4 separate regions of the Homo sapiens genome follow, and regions 1, 2 and 4 are each linked to region 3. Evidence: promoter capture Hi-C in 16 types of primary human blood cells and fetal thymus (Javierre and others, 2016). All regions are on one chromosome and are shown on one strand. The core of a region is centred on a gene start or on the middle of the fragment in contact, and the rest is flanking DNA. Distances in the headings are between cores, read along the strand shown. Region 1 has its middle 16 kb from the start of LINC01537. Region 2 overlaps PDE2A (phosphodiesterase 2A). Region 3 holds the start of PHOX2A (paired like homeobox 2A). Region 4 overlaps RNF121 (ring finger protein 121).

Evidence for each region. The method cuts DNA at HindIII sites, captures the fragments that hold promoters and counts their contacts. A CHiCAGO score of 5 or more calls a contact.
Region 1: a fragment that was not itself captured here is called in contact with the fragment with the promoter of PHOX2A in region 3 in 1 of 17 cell types (M1 macrophages); the score reaches 5.9 in M1 macrophages.
Region 2: a fragment that was not itself captured here is called in contact with the fragment with the promoter of PHOX2A in region 3 in 3 of 17 cell types (endothelial precursors, M0 macrophages and M1 macrophages); the score reaches 6.8 in endothelial precursors.
Region 4: a fragment that was not itself captured here is called in contact with the fragment with the promoter of PHOX2A in region 3 in 2 of 17 cell types (megakaryocytes and naive CD4 T cells); the score reaches 5.6 in megakaryocytes.

The regions. Positions count from the first base shown.
Region 1 is chr11:72,553,368-72,556,399 of GRCh38, forward strand. No RefSeq gene overlaps it. Among named protein-coding and RNA genes, the nearest start is that of LINC01537, 16 kb to the right of the region's middle. The HindIII fragment of the contact is 2,956 bases long and covers 1-2,852 here.
Region 2 is chr11:72,655,973-72,659,158 of GRCh38, forward strand. All of the region lies in intron 1 of PDE2A (phosphodiesterase 2A), which reads right to left. Among named protein-coding and RNA genes, the nearest start is that of PDE2A-AS1, 3.2 kb to the right of the region's middle. RefSeq lists an enhancer at 685-1,186. The HindIII fragment of the contact is 1,965 bases long and covers 834-2,798 here.
Region 3 is chr11:72,242,855-72,245,849 of GRCh38, forward strand. It overlaps PHOX2A (paired like homeobox 2A), which reads right to left and starts at 1,322. Exons shown (of 3, transcript NM_005169.4): 1 at 934-1,322. The coding sequence starts at 1,150. The HindIII fragment of the contact is 4,541 bases long and covers 476-2,995 here.
Region 4 is chr11:71,966,199-71,969,379 of GRCh38, forward strand. All of the region lies in intron 3 of RNF121 (ring finger protein 121), which reads left to right. Among named protein-coding and RNA genes, the nearest start is that of IL18BP, 31 kb to the right of the region's middle. The HindIII fragment of the contact is 3,735 bases long and covers 1-3,181 here.

The DNA.
Region 1 (3,032 bases), core at 125-2,624, 310 kb after region 3:
AGGCATCTCTCCGTCTACTGTGACCCCTCTGACCACCATAATTAGGTCAAATCCCCTCATGTAGACTCTTGTGGCATCACCTACTTTTCCTTAATGGCCCAGTTGCAGTTTTATTTTTGCTTTGGTTTTATTTGATTAGTGTCTGTTTCTCGGCTAGTCTGTGTGCTTGCTGTCTGGTTTTGTTTACCTCTGCAGCCTTTCCAATCCCTGGTCAGGAACAGCGCATAATATGTTTTCAATAAACATGTGTTGAATTAATCCATTAACATTTCATTCCGGTTATTGTGAGCTCCCTCAGGGCAGGACCCCTGCCTTAATGCTCTCTCCCCTCTACCCCAGCAGTGAGCCCAGGGCTGGGGCTGGGGAAGTGTGTAATGAGCATTCTGTGAGGGACAGATGACCACATGGCTGATGGATGGGAGTGCTTGTAGAAACAACCTGTCAGGGAATTAGGCAAGCAGGCCAGGAAACGTGAAAGAGCTGCAGAAGGATGTGGTCTAAGGTGGAGGCAGCCATGGCCTGATTGGGGAAGGAGGGTCTGGAGCATAAATCATAGATGGCATGGAGCAGTTGCGCCCCCTTGAGTCAAGGGGGCCAGCTTCTTGTGTGTGCATCCCAGATGGTCTTCGGGGATTGGGCTATCCTGCCAGCTGGACCCAAGATGCCAAGCTGGAAAATGATGGTCATCAGCTAAGTCTCCTCCTCCCTCCCATCTATCTATGTCCTGTGACCTGAGGGGTCCCTCCCTGACCCACTCACCGTGTTGGTTTCCTAGGGCTGCTGGAACTAACGGTCACAAACGGGTGACTTCAAACAACAGAAATGTATGGTCTCACAGTTCTGGAGGCTGAACGGCTGAAATCACAGTGGTGTCGGCCGTGTTCTCTCTGAAGGTTCTAGGGATCTCTCCTTGCCTCTTCCAGCCTCTGGAGATTGCTAGCTTCGGTTCCTTGGTTTGTGGTAGCACAACTGCAGTCTCTGCCTCCGTCTTCATATGGGCTTCTTCCTGTGCGTCTGTGTTATTTCCCTCTTCTCATAAGTCTTCTTACACCAGATGCTGGATTACAGCTCACCACAATATGATCCATCTTAACTTGATCACACCTTCAAAAAAACACCCTATTTCACACTCATTGATAGTGGAGGTGAGGACTTGCACAGATCTAGAGACTGGAGGACGTAGTTCAACCCACAACAGCTACCAACCTGGAGTGCTATAGTTGTCTGTTTTGAACCCAAGTCTCTTCTGCTCTTCTGTGTCTGAAGCTAAAGCCCTCTTCCTGGGAGTCCCTTCTGGCCCCTCTGTCTTTGTCTGAAGACAAAATGAGGAATGAGCTCCCTCCTTCCCAGAAATGCACCTTCATGGAGCCCTGCACTTCAGAGAGCTGCAGCTTTAACAGTGGCTGAAACCTCTCATGCCTTAAATATCCTCACAGCAGCCTTAACAAGGTTTATTATTTTTTAAAAATGTCACTAGGTTTTAAAATGTCACTAGGAGAACAGGTGGTGTTTGGTTACATGAATAAGTTCTTTAGTGGTAATTTCTGAGAGTTTGGTGCACCCATCACCTGAGCAGTGTACGCTGTATCCAATGTGTAGTCTTTTATCCCTCAACCCCCTCCCACCCTTTCCCCCAAGTCCCCAAAGCCCATTGTATCATTCTTATGCCTTTGCATCCTCATAGCTTAGCTCCCACTTACAAATGAGAACATACGATGTTTGGTTTTCCATTCCTGAGTTACTTCACTTAGAATAATGGTCTCCAATTCCATCCAGATTGCTGCAAATGCCATTACTTCATTCCTATACATGCATACATACACACATACCTATATATTTCATTCCTATATATACATACATACCACAATTTCTTCATCCACTCATTGATTGATGAGCATTAGGGCTGGTTCCATATTTTTGCAATTGCAAACTGTACTGCTATAAACATGCGCATACAAATATCTTTTTTGTATAATGACTTCTTGTCCTCTGGGCAGATACCCCAGGAGTGGGATTGCTGGATCAAATGGTAGTTCTACTTTGAGTTCTTCAAGGAATCTCCACACTGTTTTCCACAATGGTTTTACTAATTTACATTCCCACCAACAATGTAAAAGTGTTCCCTTTTCACCACATCCACGCCAACATCTATAATTTTTTGATTTTTTTTATCACGGTCATTTTTGCAGGAATAAGATTGTATCACATCGTAATTTTGATTTGCATTTCCCTGATCATTAGTGATGTTGAGCATTTTTTCAGAAGTTTGCTGGTCATTTGTTTATCTCTTAAGGTTTGTGGCCGGGGCGGTGGCTCATGCCTGTAATCCCAGCACTTTGGGAGGCCGAGGCGGGCGAATCATGAGGTCAGGAGTTTGAGACCTGCCTGGCCAACATAGTGAAACCCTGTCTCTACTAAAAATACAAAAAAATAGCCACGCATGGCAGCGTGCGCCTATAGTCCCAGCTACTTGGGAGGCTGAGGCAGGAGAATTGCTTGAACCCGGGAGGCGGAGGCTGCAGTGAGCCGAGATCATGCCACTGTACTCCAGCCTGGACGACAGAGCAAGACTCCGTCTCAAAAAAAAAAGAAAAAAAGAATGTTTATCATTATTCCCATTTTATAGATGAGGAAGCTGAGACTTGGGAAAGTTAACAGCCTTACACAAAGCCATGCAGCAAGGAAATGGCAGAGCAGGGACTTGAAGCAGTTCTGCCTGATGCTAGAGATCATGCCCTGAACCACTGCATTCTACTGTCTAGATGCTTCCCCTTGGCGGGCAGCTGCCAGCCGTCAAGAGGGTCCATGGGAAGCACATCCCACAACTTAGAAAAGTGACACGGAAAACTAAAAGCTTAAGAGAGAAAACAAAATTGGGGGCCTGTGTTTTGGTCACTAGGAAGACCCAGGGATGAGGAGTCACATGAAGAGATTAAAAACAGATGCTTAGGGGCAGTTTGGGGTGACATTTCTTTAAGGAGGATTTTTTTCCATTGGTGATATTTTAGAATTTATTTGATGGCAACATAGTA
Region 2 (3,186 bases), core at 566-3,065, 410 kb after region 3:
GTGCTGGGCAAGGCTGTGTGGGGAGATGGATGGCTTGGCGGCCACCAGGCAGGACTGGTGATTAGGAGGCTCACGGCCCGGCATCCGGAGAGGAATGGGAGGGAGGTTGAGCTGCAGAGCCATCCATCAAGGCTGGCAGGCCCAACCATGCTGCACAGTGGGGTGCGAGAGGCGAGGGGAGAGCCACGAGGGGGGCCATGTAGACAAGCTGAGGGCCAGACGCTAGGCCCAGCCCAGCCACTGACCTGTTGTAACCCTGAATGAGTCACTGTTACCTCGGGACCTCAGTTTCTTCATCAGGACAATGGGGCTAAAGGTTTATTCTGCCTGGATAAGTTCCAGCACAGCAGGCCCAATATCAGGCCCCAGGGCCAGAAGGAGCCCTGAGGAGAATGTGAGGGGCTCGGGGGGGCCCTTGCCTCCTGTAGGTGCCTAACTCAGCCAAAGGCTCCTGAGAGACGGAGGAAGGAGATGGAGCACAGAGTCTGGGCTGGGTCTCCAAAGACCCAAGTTTGAATCCATCTCTGACCCTAATGCCTTGCTGGCCCTGGCAAGCCCCTGACTTCCCAGATCCTTCCCTGGATGCTCACCTCCACCCCACTCCCACCCCCAAACAGGCCAGACACGAGCAGAAAGGACTATCGGCATAGCCCTTGCTGATGCAAATTTCATTCAAACTGAGGGCAAAGTCACCCATGGGCTCTCCTCGCCTTTCTCGGAGGTAGTGATTACCTGGGAAAATCCTGGCCAGCAAGTCTGGGGCAAGAGGTCCCAGCTAGAGTCCAGCAGGACCCAAGCAGAGCCTGTACTCTCAGTCTGTCTCTAGTGACTTAAGCTTGAGCAAGTCACTTTCCCACCCTGGGCCTGTTTCCCCATCTCTAAAATGAACCCTCCCATTTAAAAATCAAAGAAGCAACAACAAAAATCTTCAGGGCTCCTCTTCCCCCAGGGACAAACTTCAAACTCCTCACTGCATCCACTCTCTCCCAGTCCTTCTCGAGCCTCGATTCCTCCCACGTTCTCTGCTCCGCATCTCACACTTAGGCCACTCTGAACATCTGTCGCTCCCCCATCCCACGCTGCTTCATCTCTGACCCTGCCTCTCTACTGAAAACCTCCTCCCCACTCATCAGGGTCAGCAGCCACTTGCACAGCCCCTGGCCCAGCTGGGTCAGGCCCTCTCACCAAGCCATCAGTGGTCCCCACACACCTTCCCTGAGGCCTAGACCAGAAGGTGGCTGTCCCCCACCTCACTCAGCTCCCCGGGGTGAGGGCTGAGCCTGGCTTTATTCCCAGAGGAGGGGAAAAGGGTTGGCAGCCCAGGGCCTCAAACAGGAACAAGGCTCAGAAGAAGTGGGAGGAGGGGAAAGAGGAGGGATGGAGGAATGAAAAGAAAGGGGGAAGGAAGGAGAGAAACAACTGTCCCCAAGGTCCCTCTGGATGGAACAATCTGAATGAACTCCAGTCCATGCCAGATGCAGCCCCATGCCCCGGCCCCTGCCCCTCCCACTCCTCCATCTCCCTCAGGCCCCAGCCCCGCTCACACACGCCAGTACAAAGGCCCAGAGCCAAAGGGGTCTCTGGCCTCTGCGGCTGAGCCCTGACTGGAGGCTAAGAGTGCCATGTGGTTGTCATAGCGATGCTGGATGCTGTCATCACTAATTCATCACCTGAACCCTGGAAGGCCTATGAGGTGTGAGGAGAGCTGGTCAGAGCTGATCAGAGCAGCCACTGGACATAGGCGTCTTAGGATCTTGGATCTGGGGGAGGAGCAGGGATTGAACTCCATCACCCCAATCCAGCTGTGCCCTTCCCTCAGCCTCCCAACACCCTGGTAAAACAAGCACAGACCTGCCCCCATCTGTTATGTGCACCTACTGTGTGTCCAGCTTGGTCCAACTGCAGAGGCAGCCTCAGTGAAGGCCATGATGGGAGCCTCCCACCCAGCCTCTGTGAGCAGGGCAGGGCATGTCCCTCCTGATGTCACAGGAGCTGAGGAGGGGTGGAGGGAAGAGGGAGGGAGTTCATATGTTGTGCCTTCTCCTGGCAGGCATGTACCAGGCATCTTTAAAATGTAACTCATTTAATCCTCCCAGAAAACCTGCAGGGTCAGAATCATTACTCCATTTTACGGATGCCGGATGTCTTCTCAGCTAATCCTCCCATCCAATCCTCTGGGAAGCCTTTCAGGATGCCCCACCCCGACTTATCGCTGCCTTCTCTGAACTGCCAGCAATGGTGGGTGAGGGTTCTGGTCTCCCCCATCAGATTGGGCTGGGAGCTCCTCCTCCTCCCACCCCAGGTTATGGAGGAAACAAGGGCAGATCTTCCCACCTAGCTACCCTCCTGGCAGCCAGAAGACCACCCTCATCCAAGCAGGCTGGAGCTGTGGTTCTGATCCCTCCCAGGACTTTCCCTGGAAGTCACCACCTCCTCAGCCTGGAGGAGAAATGCCAGACTCCCACCTGTGAGGCACCCCTGCAACCTCCCCACCTGCCCCCCCACACACCCTAGATTTTTTCTGTTTTAAATTTTTTTGAAGTAGAGATGGGATCTCGCTAAGTTACCCAGGCTGGTCTTGAACTCCTGGCCTCAAGTGATCCTCCCGCCTCAGCTTCCCAAAGTGCTGGGGATTACAGGCATGAGACACCACACCCAGCCCACACTGCCTATTTTCTTCACTCACAACCTCAGGAAAATGAACTTTTTTTTGGAGCAGGAGAATGGGAACAAAATTAACACGCAGTCACACAACAAAGCATTTACTGAACACCTACTTTGTGCAGTCCTATGAATGAAGCTTGAGATACAACAATGAACAACACAAACCAAACCTAATCCCTGCCTTTGTGGGCTTTTGGTCTAGCAGAGTCAGCACCGAGTCTTCTAATTTTTTTTTTCTTTTAAGAGACAGGGTCTCCCTATGTTTCCCAGGCTGGTCTCAAAACTACTGGGCTGAAGCACTCTGTCTCAGCCTCCCAAAGTACTGGGATTACAGGTGTGAGCCGCTGTGCCCAGCTGAGCACAAAGTCTTGCTTTGCACATTTTAACCCACTCAATCCTTATAATATGCATGCAGGTGGATGTTATTGTGCCCACTTTATAGTGGAGGAGACGGCAAAGCTTCTGGTGATAAAGGAACCTGCCCAAGCCCACGTGCTGGCAACCCGCAAAGGCAGGAGTCAC
Region 3 (2,995 bases), core at 72-2,571:
TGGGGTTTCACCATGTTGGTTAGGCTGGTCTTGAACTCTTGACCTCAAGTGATCCACCCGCCTTGGCCTCCCAAAGTGCTGGGATTACAGGCATGAGCCACCGCGCCTGGCCCTTAGGCCCCAGTCTTCTACTTGGGTCCCCGGCAGTCTTCCCAGGAGGGAAGGCGATAAGATTACATAGGGCAGGCTGGGACTCTAATCAGAGGGCTGAGATGACTGAGAAGCTCAGTGAGGTTGAGGGTTTGGACAGGGACTTGGATCTAAAGTCTTGGGGATGCAGGAGCTGCTTCCGGGTTCTACAGAACTCTAGCTGGGAGAGTCTGGGGGAATGGGGAAATACAAGTGGCTTAAAAACCCGGGCCCCTTTATTGCGGGCTACGGGATCTGGTTTTGGTGGCTACAGAAGGGTTCGGTCCCAGGCAGCGTGGGTCCAAGACAGGGCAGGAGGGGCCTGATGGCCACGCGAGCTCTAGGAAGCTTCCCGTCTGGGCAGCTCAGCTGCCTGGAGAGGTCCTTGCTGGGGGTCATGCATCTCGTGGGGCAGCGGTGATGGGGTGGGGTGATAAGTGGTGATAGGGCTGGGCTGGGAGCCTTTTTCAAAGATCCAGCGCTTGTAGAGGTTTAGTGGTCAGTCTTTGCAGGTGGTGAGGGGAAGGCCTGGTAAGGGGCCCAGAGCTGGATGGGGATATATTTCCTTGACCTGAAGGGCACGAGACAGAGATTTGGCAACGAGAAAAAGGAACAGGAGAGATGAGAGGGTGAGGCTCATTCCTGCGGAGGAGAACCTCGTATTCTGGGGGTCTCTCGGGGCATTGGAGGGTCTGGCCAAGGCAGGAATGGGGGCGGCTGAGGGGGACAGTCGCATTCACTTGGCGAGCGGGCCCAGGGATTCTGCAGGAATTGGAGGGAGGGTTGGGCCGGGGCTGCGCTCACCTGCCGAGTAGGGCGCGGGCTGGTGGTCGCGTAGGGCGCCAAGTGCGCAGTTGGAGGAGCCGAGCGCGGGGCAGGGCGGCCCTGCCGCGGGGAAAGCGGGCCGCAGGGGGCTGTATTGGAAGCCGCCGGGCTGGCTGCAGGCGCCAAAGTCGCCGTAGGCGGACGCCTCCATGGCCGCCACGCACGAGTCGTACGAATTGAGGTAGGAGTAGTCCATCGGCCCGGGGGGCGGGGGCGGGGGCCGGGCCAGGCCGGGTCGGGGTCGGGGTCCGGGTGGAGGTCGGAAGGGAGGTTCGAGCGCCAGGCTCCGAGGACCCGAGGCCAGCTCTGAGCGCCCGAGAGTCCGCCCGCCCCGTCGCGGCCGCACTCAGCCCGGGTGCAACGCAAGTGCAGCCAGCCCGGCCCGCGCGCCTTTTAACGCGCAGGACCCCGCGGAGGGGGGCGGGGCGGGGCGAGCTCCGAAGGGGCGGGGCCTAGGAGGCCCAGACACCGCCCAAAGCCGCCCCGACCCCCACCCCGAAGGGTCCCCGCCGCCGTCTTAGGGCTCAGAGGTGTGGAGCTGGGATGCGCGGGACCCTATCCCCGGAGTCCCTATCCTGCCCCAATCCGGACCAGACCTTCGGTCTCTACACAGCGTCCGAGGCCAGAGGGTCCCGACCCTTTTCCCGGGCCTCCCCACCTGCGGCCCCGCGGAAGGGAGGGGAGGCAGGCCTGGCGGCGCTCGTGTGAAGAAGTTAATTCAATTCGCTCTGATAACCGAGTTATTCCGATCTGGCCCCTCAGCCCCGCCCCCAGCGAGGTCCCATCCCGGCGGAGACTGCGGAGGCGGCCCAGGAAGGGGGATGGAGACCGGGAAGAGACGGAGCCTGGGATGGGGACAGGGAAGGGACGTGGATAGACAGAGGAAACAGAGACCGGGAGAGAAAGGGGCAGAAACAGTGATGGAGACAGGGACAAGAGATACAGGTACACAGAGGGAGACAAGGACGGAACATACACAGCGAAAGACAGGATGGAGCGGGGACAGGGCAGAGACAGGAGATGAGGGTAAGAGAGAGACAGGATGGAGCGGGGACAGGGCAGAGACAGGAGATGAGGTTAAGAGAGAGACAAGAGGAGACAGGGAGACAGGGGGACGAGAAAGAGAGTGAGGGAGGCATGGAGACAGAAGGGGTCGGGATGAGACATGGACGGCAACCAGGACTGCGGTGGAGAGCAAGGGAGGGATGAGACAAAACAGAGGCAGGAATCGTGAGACAGACACATATGCCCAGGGACAGTCTGAGAGAGACAGGGCCAGGGACAGCCACAAGCGCGGGAGCAGAGGCTGAGAGCGGAGAGAAAACGCCTCCGGGGAGCTTAGACACGAGGGCTGGAGCGCAGAGGGGCCCAGGGATGATGCTGGAGGCTCTGGGGTGCGGCCTCCACGGGGCTGCGGAGAGGGAGGGTCGTGGGAGCCAGGTCCCTCTACCCTGACTTGTCCCGAGGCCCACACGACCTTGCACCTTCAGGGCCCGCCTGCCTCTCCCCCCGTTCCCTCAGCTCCATCTGCAGTATGCGACCCTCTCCTGTGACCTTGGGCTCAGGATGCGATGGATGTCAGAAAGGGAACGTACCCCGTGACCTCTTTATTGTTCTTCAGTCTCTTACCCCTGTTCTCCAGGGCCCCCCGCTTTTTTTCTCCAGGGAAACCACCTAGACTCAGTCTGCACCTGGCCCAGACATCCCTGCACAGATTCAGTCACCAGCTCCCTCGTGCTGTGGGACAGCGGGACACATTCAGAATCCTTACCAAGAGAAGGGAACAGATAACTTTTCCGTCGCTCCTGAGCTGGGTTGGGCAGCTCGTCCACTCAACCCCCAGCCTCTTCCACCGATCTTGGCAGGTCTTGTAGATGGGGAGTCCTAGACCCATGGAGAAGCCGCGGGAAGGGCGTGTCTTTGTTTCCAGCTGAAGTCCTTGGGGGTTGATAGAAGGACTCCTGGAATTCTCCCCAAGTTTGTCAGGACAGAGGGGAGTGCGCCTCTCCTCAGGTAATCCTTCCCCCATCATCCGTTCTGG
Region 4 (3,181 bases), core at 68-2,567, 280 kb before region 3:
AGTAGAGACAGGGTTTCTCCACGTTGGTCAGGCTGGTCTCGAATGCCTGACCTCAGGTGATCCGCTCACCTTGGCCTCCCAAAATGCTGGGATTACAAGTGTGAGCCGCCGTGCCTGGCCTGATATTTCCATTTTTATCGAAGTAATACATACCATAGTTTTAAAAGTCAGATAGTTCTACAAGACTTCAGAAGCAAAACACATTGGTCCCCTGCCCAACTCTGTCAGTCGCTGATTCTTCTGTGGCAACTACTTTTATTAATAACTTTTTTAGTTCATTTCTGATACTTTTTTTTTTTAAGATACAGGATCTCAGTCTGTCACCCAGGCTGGAGGGCAGCAGCTCCATCATAGCTCACTGCAGCCTCAAACACCTGGGCCCAGGCAATCCTCCTGCCTCAGCCTCCCAAGTAGCTAGGACTACAGGTACACACCACCACGCTTGGCTAATATATATATATTTTAATTTTTTGTAGAGTTGGCTCTCACTATATTGCCCAGGCTGGTCTTGAATTCCTGGCCTTAAGTGATCCTCTTGCCTTAGCTTCCCAAAGTGTTGGGATTATAGCATGAGCCACCACAATTGGCCTTGCGTTTTTTAAATAACATGTTTATACTGATGTATAAATTTCTACTTTATTATATTTAAATATAATATTTGTGGGTTTTTTGTTTTTTTTTTTTGAGACGGAATCTCACTCTGTCACCCAGGCCGGACTGCGGACTGCAGAGGCGCAATCTCGGCTCACTGCAAGCTCCGCTTCCCGGGTTCACGCCATTCTCCTGCCTCAGCCTCCCGAGTAGCTGGGACTACAGGCACCCGCCACCGCGCCCGGCTAATTTTTTGTATTTTTAGTAGAGACGGGGTTTCACCTTGTTAGCCAGGATGGTCTCGATCTCCTGACCTCATGATCCACCCGCCTCGGCCTCCCAAAGTGCTGGGATTACAGGCGTGAGCCACCGCGCCCGGCCAATATTTGTGTTTTTTAAATAACATGTTTATACTGATATAAATTTCTACTTTATTATATTTAAATATAATATTTATGTTTTTTAAATAACATGTTTATACTGATGTATAAATTTCTACTTTTAAATATTATATATTGACTTCCTACTTTGGAAGGTAATAATTATGTGGGTTTTTTTTGTTTTTTTTTTTTTTTTTTGAGACGGAGTCTCACTCTGTCACCCAGGCTGGAGTGCAATGGCATGGTCTCGGCTCACTGCAATCTCTGCCTTCTGGGTTCAAGCGATTCTTCTGCCTCAGCCTCCCAAGTAGCTGGGACTACAGGTTCATGCCACCACACCCAGCTAATTTTTGTATTTTTAGTACAAATGTATTTTAGTACAAAATACAATAGTATTTAGTATTTTGTATTTAGTACAAATGTATTTTTGTATTTTTAGTACGTGGTTTCACCATGTTGGCCAGGATAGTCTCGATCTCCTGACCTCGTGATCTGCCCACCTTGGCCTCCCAAAGTGTTGGGATTACAGACATGAGCCACTGTGCCTGGCGGTAATAATTATCTTTTACTGCTATACCTATACCCGTTACATACTACAAACATTTCCTCCTCCCAATTTTTAAATAAATATTCATTGTTTACATTATTAAGTATTATATGTAAGTATTATTCACAAGATGTATTATTCACAGCTTGAGCCATATGATATATTTGGTACATTTTCTTTCCTTTGCTCAGGTTTCTTTTGGAATGTTTCTTACTGATTTGTAAGAGCTCTTTGTAGGTCAGGAATAAGCCTTCTGACATAATTTGCTACGGATATCTTTCCCCAGTTTGTCATTTGATTTTATTTGTAGAATTGGTAGAAAAATTTTTATAGATTAGATTTATGAACGATCTTTTTTTTTTTAAGATGAAGTCCTGCTCTGTCGCCCAGTTTGGAGTGCAGTGGCATGCTCTCGGCTCACTGCAACCTCTGCCCCCGGTTCAAGCGATTCTCCTGCCTCAGCCTCCCAAGTAGCTGGGATTACAGGCTCCTGCCACCATGCCTAGCTAACTCTTTGTATTTTAGTAGAGAAGGGGTTTCACCATGTTGGCCAGGCTGATCTCGAACTCTGGACTTCAAGTGATCAAACTGCCTCGGCCTCGCAAAGTGCTGGGATGACAGGTGTGAGCCACTGCCCCCAGCCCAATTTATGAACGATCTTGTTGGCTAAGTACTCTATTGTTTGCTATTCTGTTTGGATGGCCCATCTTGCTGTTCCTGATTTTCTATCCTGGTTCTTATAAAGTTCTTCTGCCTGCCTAGGCATATTTTAGGTAATAGCCATAGCTACCAATTTTACAATTCTTGTGGACCTCTCATTCTCAAATCTGCTGTAGGTTAAAGGTCAGTTCTAGAGAGGAGAAGCAGAGCATAAATATAGTTGGGACATTACCACCTATGTAATTACGTAGACATAATTAATAACACTAGCTAGCATTTATTGAGTACTGTCTATTTATTTGTTCAGTCAGTAGATATTCGTTGATCCTTTCTAGTCCCACGCTGGGGCTGTGCTCAGTTATATTGTTTCCTTTGTGGAGAAACAACTTTGAAAAACAGTTTCAAACTGTTTTTAAATTAAACTCCCTATGATCTGGGAGTTTAATTCCTAGATATATGCCAAGAGAAGATTTTGGTACATCCTCCTAGGATTTTTCTTTTTTCTTTCTTTCTTTTTTTTTTTTTTTGAGTCAGGCTCTTGCTGTGTTGCCCAGGCTGGAATGCAGTGGCGCGATCTCGGCTCACTGCAACCTCCGCCTCTTGGGTTCAAGTGATTCTCCTGCCTCAGCCTCCCAAGTAGCTGGGATTATGGGTGTCTGCCACCATGCCCGGCTAATTTTTGTATTTTTTAGTAGAGACAGAGTTTCACCATGTTGGTCAGGCTGGTCTCGAACTCCTGACCTCAGGTGATCCACCTGCCTCGGCCTCCCAAAGTGCTGGGATTACAGACGTGAGCCACCGTGCCTGGCCCCTCTTAGGATTTTTCATAGCAACACTATTTGTAGTAGCAAAAACTTGGAAATGACAATACTCACGTAAAGGTGAATGGGTGAGTTAGTTGTGATATATTCACATAATGGAATATAACATATAAAATAATGCATATGACATACTTATAAAAAGACAAAATATAAAATAACTATAGCTACAAATAATGGTAAGG